2 separate regions of the Homo sapiens genome follow, and region 2 is linked to region 1. The links are contacts of gene promoters, found by promoter capture Hi-C in blood cells and fetal thymus (Javierre and others, 2016). All regions are on one chromosome and are shown on one strand. The core of a region is centred on a gene start or on the middle of the fragment in contact, and the rest is flanking DNA. Distances in the headings are between cores, read along the strand shown.

Region 1 (5,726 bases), core at 600-3,099:
TGGAGACAGTCCCCGTAGGAACCAAACTGATGTATAATAAAACTCATCATTTATTTCTCTTCTCCCTACAGCATTTCAGCCAGTGAATGGTAGAATTTTGCAGGAATAAGAATTAGAGGTGTAGAGGGTTTTGAGATGCGGGGTGGGTCAGGTTTCACTACTCAAGGACCCTAAGACAGGTTTTTGGAAGAAGTGTGTGTGTGTGTGTGTGTGTGTGTGTGTGTGTGTGTAGGACCACATTCAGCCACTCCCATGGGCAAGTATGACATATGACCACTCCTCTCTTCTTGCCCCCTGGCCTCCTTAACCTAGAAGTCACCTTGCTGGCTCATGGGATTCCTTGATACTTCTGCAATCCAGCTTCTCCGCTCCAACAGGCTGTCCCTGCCCAGCTGAGCTGGCCCACCCAGGGTTCCCTCACAGTGCTATGGGCCTCCACTGGCCCCCTCTGCACAGCCCATCCTCTCCAATCTTTCTTTCCAAAGTGAAATCTACCAATGCTTACTCTTTGGCTCTGGCCACATGAGAGACAGACAGACATACAGACACACACTTCTTTCTTTTTGCCTTGGCTCACCACTATTCAATGCCTGGAAGCCTTATTTTCTCCCTTGGGAACCTCCACTCAGTCTTTACAACTGTCATCTCCTCCAGGAAGTCATCCCTGCTCTTCTTCCCAGGCTGGTTCAGAGCCCAGGCATCTGAGCATACACAGCTCATTCATAGCCCCCCCCAACATTTAAAAGATGACTTGGTTGGGTGTCTGCCTCGCCCACTGCGCTGGGAGCTCTGGGCAAGGGCTGTGGTGGGAGCCTCTCCCCCTGGTGCGTGGCGGGAGTCCTGGGGCCCCTCCGCGGACAACAGGGCCCGGGGACGTTCCCAGGCTTGCTGGAGGAGCAGCTTTTGAACGAGGCTCTGCCAGGTCCCAGACCCCAGGAAGCTCAGCTGTCTCCTCGAAATCTTGGGGGTGCCACATGGAGCCCAGTCCCTTTCAGGCACGAGCCCACAACAGCTTAACGCTCTCTTTGGTGGTGGCCGGCCCGAGGCAGGCACCGGAGGCGGAGGGAGCCCTGTTCCGCTGTGGCCGCGAGGAGCGGGCTCTTCGCCCGGGCTCGCACATGAAAGCTCCGTGCAGGGTCGGAGTCTGAGCCCGCCGGCCGCTTGGAAGGCTCCTCACGTCCAGGCGCCGCGGTCACGGCTGCGCTGGTTTCCGGCCATGAATTGGGCTTCAGAGTCCGAGCCTCTTGCCCGACTCCCGGCTGAGCGCGCTGCCCATGGAGCGGGGGATGGGCGCCCGCCGAGGTCCGCGCGGCCAGCCAGGGTTCGAGCCCACGGCCCGGGCTCTACTCTGAGATGCTTGCGGCGGCCGGCCCCCTCTGGCTCCCCAGCTGTCCTGGGGCCTGGCCCGGCGCCCCGCCCCGGTCTCTCTTCTTGCTCCCCAGGTCCCACTCCACGAGGAACGGTCTGTTTCGGCCGGGGACATGACCCGAGACGCGCGGCTGCTGAGGTCGCCAGGGCGCTTCGGGAGCCCCTCGAGGGCAGTTAGCGGCCGGCCCTCCTCCATTCTCCCGCCCCTGGCGAACCGGAGAAGGAGGCCCGAACCGTCAGAGCTCGGCGCGCCGCAGCCCAGGCCGGTCCCCGCCGCTGTGCCGGTCTCCGAGCGTCCCCCGAGCCGGGAGCGTGGAGCACCCGGCGCCCCCTCCGAGCCGCGAGCGGGCGAGAGCCGCGCGGCGAGGCTGAGGCTCCGCAGTCACGTGGTAGAGAGGCGGGCGGAGGGGAGGGAGGCGGGCAGGGAGGGGAGGGGGAGCGGAGCTGAGGGGGAGGGGGAGGGGAGGGGGCGTCCTCCGCAGTTCGCTCCTCGCCGGGGCTCAGACACACAGCCAGCCCAGAGCCGCCACGCCGGCCCGGCCGCCGCCGCCACCGCCTCAGCCTCCCCCGAAGCCGCTCTAGCCGCGGGAAGCGCCGCTGCCACAGCCGCGGGCCGCCCCCGCCGCGCCGGCCTGGGCTCAAGCTGCCAGCACCGCCGCAGCCGCCACCGGAGCCGGAGCGGGAGCCCGACCGCGCTGGGCTGGGCTGGGCTGGGCTGGGGCGGGCGCAGGGCGCAGGGGCGGGCGCGCGGGGGAAGACGCACGGGCGGGCTCGGCTCTCCCGGGGAGCGGCCCGGGACTGCACCGGGACCAGCGCCTCCCCGCTTCGCGCTGCCCTCGGCCTCGCCCCGGGCCCGGGTGGATGAGCCGCGCGCCCGGGGGACATGGAAGCGCTGACGCTGTGGCTTCTCCCCTGGATATGCCAGTGCGTGTCGGTGCGGGCCGACTCCATCATCCACATCGGTAAGCGCGGCTGGAGGCCGGGCCGAGGCTGGGCGGGGGCCCCAACGGGGCAGGGGGTGCGCGGCGTCCAAACTTGGCGTTTCCCTGGGCCGAGGGGCTCGGCGGGCGGTGCTCCCCCGAAGGGCCGCGCCGCGCCGCCCGGCGGAGGAGCTGTGCACCGGCCGCGCCGCGCTCCCGCTGGCTGCTTGCCGCTCCCCGGGGCTCCGATCTCCGCGCGGGGCCCCGCGGCCTCTACCGACACTTAGGGCCGACGCTTCGGGGAACACCGGGATGGACGCGCGTCGAGACCCGCGCCCTTAGCGGGGCCGTCGGCGGGTCGGGAGGGCCCTTCTGCGCAGCTCAGAGCAGCGGGGGGCAGGGGGAGGTACAGCGGGGGGCTCGCCAAGTTGGCAGGGCAAGATCAAAGAGGCCGGACCGGAACCGTGTGTGAATGTGTGTGGGTGCGTGTTGTCAGCGTGTGTCGCTGTGTGCGCCTGGCACGGTGTCGGTGTTACTGTGAGAGGGTGTTGGGGTGTGTGGGGCCATCTGAGCGTGTGTTGGTGCGTGCACGACTGTCTGTCAGCCTGTTAGAGTGGACACAGTGTCTGCCTGCTTCTCCGGTGTGTGTCTGTGTAGCCCTTGGTGTATGTGTGAGTGCGTGTGTATCTGGTTGTGGCGACTGCATCCCCATCCTGGACAGTCCTAGAGTTTTGCGTGGTCCAAGTCTTGGGGGCCCAGACGGTCTGGGTGGTGGGAGCCGAGGGAAGAAGCGTGGGCAGCGGGGGGTAGGGGGATGCTGAGCGGGAAGAGATGGATAGAGAGAGAGAACCGGGAGAGAAGATGAAAGCGCAGAGGAGGAGGGGGCGCGCCGAGGGGGAGTGGGCGCGCCGAGGGGGAGTGGGTGGGAGTTGGGAGCAACACGGGAGGAATCTCGGGAAGTTGGGCCGAGTTGGGGGGCTGACAGCGGTCGCTTTGGGGGAGTCCCTCCGCAGTCGTCTTTCCGGAAGTTGGGAAAGACCAGCGAGCACAGGGAAACTGGGGGTTGGGAGGTGTTGAAGGCGAGGAGGACGGGACAAGGCGGGAGGGTGGGTGGTGGAGTGGGGTGGTGAGGACTAGGCCTGGGCTCGGAGAGCTACGATTCCTCCTCAGGGGCCCGTGACCAAACCTGCTTCCCGCCCTGGAGGGGTGCGGGTCTCGCGGTCAGCATTGCGGCGCCGGCTCCGGGTGTAGTGAGGAATCCGGGCCTCCCTCCTCCTACCCAGCCCCCAGCTCGAGGGATCACTGGGCCTAGCTCCGGGACCTCAGGGACCCTCGAGGCTTGGTGAGGCGGGATGTGGGTGGCTGACTCCAGAGCTGTCCAGGTTGCAGGACTAGGCTCGGGCTGGTCGCACTGATCTCGGCTGGAAGCGCAGGGTCCGTGGAAGCTGTGCTAGGCGCACAAAGCGCCAGCCGGAGGGCGCCCTGGAGGAGCTGTCCGCGGTTCTAGAAAGCCCTTCAAGAGCAGCTCCTTCTGGGACCCCCAGCTCCGCTAGATCTGAACGTGGAGGCGCCTAGGACACAAGTCCCCTTCCCCCACTCCCCTCGACAGACGTACAGGAAATGGGAGTGGGGAAGGATGGAGAGTAGGAGGCTGAGCTCAGGGCGCCAGGCCGGGCAGCGTCACAGTCATCCAAGCTGCAGGCCATCCGAAGCCCCTGCCTAAGGAAGACCCCTCTGCGCAGGAAAGCCAACTGTAGACCTGCTTCGCTCAGCTCCACTCAGCAGGGGACGTGCATGGAGAAGGACCCATCATTCTGTCCTGGGATTTGGGTGGGGGACACCACCCTCCCGGGGAACTTCCTGGCTCCTGGGATGGGATTTATGGAACCATGTCAAGGCATTTGGGCGCTGCCTGGGGCCACCCCAGCTTGGCTTAGTCCCTTGTGTGGAGCATGGCTAGGACATGTGGTGCCTTGGTTGTGAGACACGTGTGTGACCTGGTGGCAGCCTGTGGGATGTGCATGTGTAACTCATGTCAACTGTGTGCACGTGTGCGCTGAGGGCTGGTGGGGGGAGGGGAACATATTCCTGTGCAGGTGGAGATCGGAGAGCCTTAATCTACCCCGCCAAGCTGAAATCCCAGTTCAGACTTCCCACCACCCGGCAATCATCGGTCTGCGAGTGCCTTGACCCTCGGGCCAAGGGAAGCGGGGAGAGGGTTCTTGTCCAGGTCCGGTCTTGATCCCTTCTCTCCTCCAGGTGCCATCTTCGAGGAGAACGCGGCCAAGGACGACAGGGTGTTCCAGTTGGCGGTATCCGACCTGAGCCTCAACGATGACATCCTGCAGAGCGAGAAGATCACCTACTCCATCAAGGTCATCGAGGCCAACAACCCATTCCAGGCTGTGCAGGAAGGTGAGTGACCGCTGTGCCCAGGGCCCACTGGGACACGGCCTGCGAGGCGTCGCAGCAGTGGGCACCGGAGGGGTTGGGACGAGCTGGGCTGCGCAGGGCACCCTCTGTTCCTCGGCAGCCGCGGTGCCATGCGCGGTGGCGCGCCTTCCCCGGCCCACCTAGGCAGCGGCGCCGGGACTGCTCTGCGCTGCGGGCCGGCACGGAGAGCCTGCGAGCGCGGGGAGCTGGTGTTCTTGCGGGTTGCGTGGCGCCCTTCGGGCTGTGTGGGCGCGGGTGTGCGCCCAGCGCTGGCCGCGCAGGCGTGCGTGGCTCGGGGCAGTCTTTGTTTCTCGGTGTTTGGGGGTGGGCGTGTCTGCGTGCCGGGTACCTGTATCGGGCGCACCTCCCCTGATCTCAGTGGCCCGGTGTTTTCCTCGCTTCGAGGTGAGGAGCGCCCAGCGGCTGGAGCCCGACCTGTCTCCTTCTCCCGGGCATAACCTGGTAGGCGCGGCGTTTCGCGCCCCGCGGCCCCCAGAGCCTCAGCCCGGCGCTTCTCTGCAGCGCTCCTCCACCAGGTTTGGAGGAGCCGGTTTCTCTCTCGCTGTCCGCGCCGCGGGCGGAGGCGCCGCCGCCTGGGCCGGAGGTGGGCGCTGTTCGCCCAGGAAAGGAGCGGAGCTGGGCCGGTCCGGCTGCGGGGAAATCCTGGCCTACGCCGGGGCCGCCCTTGTCCACAGCCACTGCCTCCGGTCGGGCCCCGCGGCAGGCGCCACAGGTGCGAGGCGAGGGCGTTCACGACAGCAACCCCCTCTGCTTTCCCTCCTCTCTGCTAGTCCCTCCCCTTCAACCTTTCAGCTCGGGAACCCTGGTTCCTTCTCCAAGCCTCCAGATTCCTGGTTAAGGCCTAAGGCTCCGCCTCTGACACTTACCCGGCTTAAGTCCCTTCTCCTTCCCTCTGCCTTGCTCCCCGCAACCATGGGGACTCTGGGGCCAGCGCCCCTCAGTGCTGGGGCAAGTTAGTGGCGCAGGATGCAGGGATTCCTTGCT
Region 2 (6,088 bases), core at 1,033-3,532, 260 kb after region 1:
TAAACCTGCATGTGCAGTGTTTGATTTTTCTCATTTGGATTATTGCTGACAGGAAATTTCCTAGAGCAGGAGCAAAGGGTCAGGGAAGGACAGACACTTGGGGAGCTCTCAGACCCTGGAGCTCATGGTCCCCAAGACCGTGGTCTTGACTGCCATGCTGAGCAGTGGATATCATCATCCTCCTTTGCAATTGGGAACACTGGCCTTTCCAACATCTTCTCTCACAAGGCTTCCTCTCCCTGAAGCAGCCCCCATCCTCTTGTCCCCCTTGCATACCATGCTAACTCTACCATCATTTTCCTCTCCCCATCGCGGCTCCTCAGGGCAGCATTCCTGGGTGACCTGTGGTGCCCAGGCCAGTTAGACACATGCACAGTGCCCGTGCTTTTCCCTCAGGGTGCAGACTTCACTCTGCAATGATCTGTCTGTCACAGGCTTATTTGACTGATGTCAATCTCTCCCCTAGATTCCAACCTTTGCTGGAGAGGGGGGATGGCATCTTTCTCTCCACAGTGCCGGCTCTGGTGCTTGGCACACAGAAGAGGCTTCAGTGCTTGCTGAATGGGGAATGAAGGCTCCGTGTGCCCCGGACACTGCTGGGGAGGGGCAGCTGGCCCCTAGGGCTCTGCTTTCATTGAAGAGCGTGTTCCCCACCCAATCTAGATGTGTGCCTCAGAAGGCTAGGACTCAAGTGTGGGAATTGTGTGAGAGCCACAGGAGGCAAGAACAGCCAGTGCTGTGTGTTCTGAAGAGATAGCGTGGTGCAGAATCAAACAGGGCATCTGTAACAGACAGACCATGCTTCTGACCGGCTCTGTGCTCCACAACTGTGAGACCTTGGCCAGAGCGCTACACCCTCTGGGCCTCAGTTTCCTGGTCTCTGTGGTGGGCACACTCCAGGCCTTAATGGACAGGCATAACCTTGCCCACCCTCACTGTCTTCTTGGGCAGACTGAAGCTATCCCAGTGCCTATTTCATGCAGCTCTTTCCTCAGGTATTTGGGGTAACAGTTCTTGAGAAAACATGGCTCGTTAAATTGAAAAGTGCTTCTCCAACTTCCTGGGAAAGAGGATGGCACTAACCCTGTCCAGATCTTCAGAGCCACCGTAAATCACTTCCTTAAAAATCCCAAACTTGTGTGTAATTATGTGACTATGTAATGAAGTCAGAAGTGGGTAGGATTGATTTGTCAGGTGAATTAATCTCCACAGCAAGTGGAGGCACATGGGGGCACGAGGCCTGTCACAGCCTTGTCACCTGCTGCAGGCTTCACTGGCTTCCTGCTCTCAATGCTGTACCTTTTGCCCCCCTGTCCGCTGTCGCACACCCTAGGCACTTCATCGGCCATGCATGAAGGTCCAGTGCACTGTCTCAGGCCGGGTCCTGGGAATAAGATACCAGGCTGAATTCAGCTGGACCTGACCATGGTGCATGCTAGGGTGTGGGTTTGTGTCCAACATTGAAGGGACAGAGGCAGAGCCCTGTGGTCCTGAGGGCCTGGAGGGTGGGGCAGCTGGGCCAGGCCCTATGGAACAAGGCAGGAATGACTCTGGGCATTCAGTCTGCCGAGGATTGCCCCTGATGTATGGCATGGAAATGTTCTCTGGCCGCAGAGGAGCTGGTGCTCCCTTTGTGTCATGCTGCCTGTCTGCTGCCAGCTAGGGCTGGGGGCCTTGTGAAGCACTGAGCATGGTGGGCATGCACCTGTCTGGGCCATCCTTGCAGCAGGGACCTTTACCCTGGGAGGGAATCCTATGCCCTGGCTAAGCAAGTGGGTGTGAGTTGTGCCCCTCGTGGGTTGGAGGAAACAGGTGTGGGATGCCTGTGCCGGGCCTTCTCGTGGGTGTCTGGCCACCCCTGCACCTGCTGAGGCCTGGCTTCCAGAGTTGGAGGGAACTTCACAGAGCAGGCGTGGTTGGGTCTGGGGTCCCAACTGCACCCTGAGCTCTGAGCTGGGCTGGCCAGCAGCTTTGCAAGAGGAACTAGCCCCTTCTACCTGCCAGGTTTGGATTTGAACCCTGGTCCGTATGTCTCCAAGCCTGTTCTTGTTAAAGAACAGGGTGGGCAGAGAGTGGAGTGGTGCCTACCCCGTGGGATAAGGCACCTACCTCTCTGCCAGACTGGAACAAGTATGCACATGTGCACCCTTACACATGTGTGTAGCTGAAGAGAGTCTGAAGGCCACATCAGAGAGCCATGCTTATGAGGGAAGTGCGGCAGGGGGAGCTGTCCTCCTGAGGCCAGGAGGAACAGTTGTGATGAATGAGATTGGGAGGCAACACCATGAGGGCTGTGCCCAGCATCTGTCACTGGATGACTGATTGATTGCCCCATGTGCAGGGTTCAGCCCAACAGTGGTTAGTAATGATTCTCTCTCTCTCTCGTGACATGGTTGGGCCAGGGGAGGTGGGCAGTGTCCCAGGGTGGCCTTACCCTCTGTCCTTGCTACCCTTGAGGTACAAGGCACACACCTTTCCTAAGGGCCCCCCACTGTGGCAAACGTTTAAGAGCCATGGCTGGAGCAGAACGTGAGATGCTGTGGAATGAAGGGGAGCCTGTTCCTGTCCCCTAAGAAGGCATTACATAAGCAGCATCGGGAGTCCTCTTCCTCCGGGGCCTGTCTGCAGTTTCACTGCTTGTCCACATGGGCTCCAGCTCCCATGGCTGACGCTTGCTTGGGGGAGCCTAGGCCTGTGGCCTGGGGGTGCAGTTGAGCCTCCTTACATGGCATAATGTGAATCTAGCCCTGGGCACTAAGCTGAGGCTGAGAGGGTGGCAGGGAACTGCGGGCCTCATCACAGGCTCACAGGGAATGACTGAGGGCCTCAGAATTCCCCACCTGGGCCCTATAGGGAATTGATGGCCAGCTCTGGTCTCTGGCCCCAGGAGGTCAGCCTCAGGTGGCAGAGTGGCAGCCGACTCTGGTGCTGTCCTCTATCCTGGCTCCACCTCTGTTGCACACAGGGGCTTAGTGGGCTGACCAGTGAGGGGTGTGGTCATAGCTGCCAGCCCCTTCTGCTTGCCCATGCTGACTTTGTCCTCTTGCTTTCCTGCTGTATTAGCCCATTTCATACTGCTATGAAGAAATACCTGAGACTGGGTAATTTATAAAGAAAAAGAGGTTAAATGGATTCACAGTTCCACATGGCTAGGGAGGCCTCACAATCATGGCAGAAGGTGAAGGAGCAGCAAAGGCATGTCTTACATGGCAGCAGGCAACAGAACGTCTGCAGGGGAATTGTTCTTTTATAAAACTGTCAGTTCTCATGAGACTTATTCACTATCACAAGAACAACTTGGGAAAAACCTGCCCTCATGATTCAATTACCTCCCACTGGGTGCCTCCCATGACATGTGGGGAATATGGGCACTACAATTCAAGATGAGATGTGGGTGGAGACACAGCCAAACCATATCACCTGCCCTTCCATAGGCCTCGCAGTCTGGTTTTGAACAGAAAAAGAGGTTTAATAGATTCACGGTTCCACATGGCTGGGGAGGCCTGGCTCCCGTCCCCTGGGCCTCTTGGCACTGCTCCCAGGTAGGGCCTTTCCAGGACTGGGCACATTTATGTTGTGGGGATCAGGCCTGCATTCCTCCTTAGAGGAAGAATGATTATTCTCTGTTTAACATAAAGCAAATGGTGTGGCAGCGCCGGGCAGGGCTCTGGAACACCAGCCCCAGTTTTCCCTGTCAATGAGTGGGCATGGGGTAATGCCTTGTCCACACTAAGCCATCTCTGTGAAATGGGCCTGTGACCCTTTCTTCAGCTGCCCAGGCCCAACATCTTGATGCTGTCTTTGCTGCTTCTTCCTCATGCCCCTCATAATTAGTCCATTAGCAGTTCTGACACCATGTGTCTGGATTCTGATTACTTCTCACCACCCCAATGGCTATGTCCCTGGTCTAAGCCATTGCTGGCATCAGCCTCCTGACCTGCCTTCCTGCTTCTCACCTTGCTCCATGCAGCTTGTCATTCTGAGGCAGCCAGAGTGGCCTGTTAAAATTCTAGCTGATCATGTCATTACCCTGCTCAGAGTCTTCCTGTCTCACTGGGGTTATAGCTGGAGTCCCTGTGTGGACAAAGCAGGGCGAACACACTTCCTGGTCTATGAGGGATGGTCCCCACTTATGCCTTTTGTTCCAGAAGAAATATTCGTTCTCAGAATCATCCTGGTTTGCTCTTTGTGAATGCTTATAGCGGCTTTGTTGTAATAACCGCAAACTGGAAACCATCCCAATGTCCTTCAGCTGGTGAATGGATAACAAACTGTGGTACAGCCATACAATGGAATATTATTCAGCATTAAAAAGGGAGTTTGAGACCAGCCTGAGCCCCATAATGAGACTCTGTCTCTACAAAAAAATAAATAAATAAAATAAAATTAGCCAAGCCAGGCATAGTGCATGCCATGTAGTCCCAGCCACTCAGAAGGCTTAGGTGGGAGGATCTCTTGAGCCAAGGAGATTGAGGCTGCAGTGAGCTATGATTGCACCACACTGCACTCTAGCCTGGGTAACAGAGCAGAGTGAGACTCTGTCTCAAAAAAAAAAAAAAAAAGGAATAATGAAAAACAAACCAGGAACAAACTCCTGTTACATACAGCAACATGAGATAATTCTCAAAAGCATATGCTGAGTGACAGAAGCTGCACTCAAGAGGCCTCATACTCCATAATTTCAATTATGTGATGTTCCTGATTGGCAAAACTATAGGGGCAGAAAACTCATTGGTGTTTTCCAGGCCTAGGGATAGGAGGATTCACTACAAAGAGCCATAAGGAATTGCTGTGGGCAATGGAGCTGTTCCGTATCTTGATTATGGTGTTGGTTACATTACTGTCTAAGTTTATAAAACTCATAAGATTATACATTCAAAATAATGCATTTTGCTATGTAAATTACACTTTGATTTAAAAAACAAGTCCTAGTTAGGGTGATAAATTATACGGTCATTCAACCTCTAACATCTTACCTGATTCATCCTCTCTTTGATGTCACCTCCTGCTGCTCCTCTCCTGGATCTGTTATTCCAGCCACCCAGGCTACCTTGCTGTCCCATGAATATGCCAGGTGGACCCCTGCATATGGATCTCTATACTTGTTTTCCTCTCTGCTTGGAAAAATCGACTTCCAGATAGTCACGAGCCCCTTCTCTCTCACTTCCTTAAAGTCTTTACCCAAAAGTCCCCCTATCAGTCACCAGTGACCATTTAATGGTGCATAACAAACAGCCTCAAGTCTCACTGGAATCCAGCATCTCATGCACCCTACAGGTTGGTGGAGGTGCCTCATCCAGGCTGGGCTTGGTGGGCTCTGCTTCCAGCTGTGGGTCTGTTTGCCAGCATCTCGGCAAGGCCAAGATTGGAAGAGCAGCAGCTACCCAAGAGACACTCTCTTTTGGCCATGGCACAAGCACAAGAAGACACGTCCTGCGTGTGCACATTTCAAGCTTTTGCTTGTGCTATGCCAGTTAACATCCCATTGGCTACAGCAAGTCAAGCTGTGCAGTATACGCCACCTACAGGGAGGGGAGTGAATATTACCAATAATCCAAACAGTCCCCATCACCTTCCCAATGAGGGCTTCTCTGACCAACCTGTGAAAACTTTAGCCCCCAGCTTGCCATTTTCTCTCCCTCCTCTCTGCTTTATTGCTTTCCTAACACTCCTGACTGTATAACTTATTATACATTTCATTGATTAATCTTGTTTAGTTTCTGTCTTCCACTCACTGGAGTGTAAGTTTCACCAGAGCACAAGGACATTTATTTGTTTTTTTTTTAATCCTATATCTCCAGCACCTAAGAAAAATGCTCAGTAGATATTTGACTAAATGATTGAATAGGGTTATGCTAAGAATTTATTGAGATGATATATGAGACATGTTTCAAATACAGTCCTGCACACAAGAAGTGCTCGGTAATTGGAGGCTCTTATATTCTACAGCCTGCATGCTGTTGGGAGAGTCAAGGCTCAGTTATGTGTGTGATTACAATACTTTGCACAATAAGCCTTTGAAGCCAGATCTGCTTTAAGTTTGGCTTCAGAGATAAGGCGCTGAGGCATGGAGAGGCTGTTATTTGCC

Evidence for each region. Contacts are between HindIII fragments. The CHiCAGO score rates a contact against its expected background, and 5 or more counts as called.
Region 2: a fragment that was not itself captured here is called in contact with the fragment with the promoter of GRID1 in region 1 in 4 of 17 cell types (M0 macrophages, M2 macrophages, M1 macrophages and 1 more); the score reaches 20.7 in M0 macrophages.

Annotation. Positions count from the first base shown.
Region 1 is chr10:86,362,918-86,368,643 of GRCh38, reverse strand. GRID1 (glutamate ionotropic receptor delta type subunit 1) reads left to right here and starts at 1,849. Exons shown (of 16, transcript NM_017551.3): 1 at 1,849-2,330; 2 at 4,548-4,703. The coding sequence starts at 2,252. RefSeq lists silencers at 1,151-1,360, 1,471-1,860, 1,881-1,930, 2,161-2,360, 2,391-2,540 and 1 more and enhancers at 4,741-5,254, 5,255-5,726. The HindIII fragment of the contact is 11,562 bases long and covers 1-5,726 here.
Region 2 is chr10:86,100,108-86,106,195 of GRCh38, reverse strand. The region is part of intron 4 of GRID1 (glutamate ionotropic receptor delta type subunit 1); the gene reads left to right. Among named protein-coding and RNA genes, the nearest start is that of MIR346, 160 kb to the left of the region's middle. RefSeq lists an enhancer at 1,152-1,652. The HindIII fragment of the contact is 6,346 bases long and covers 1-5,455 here.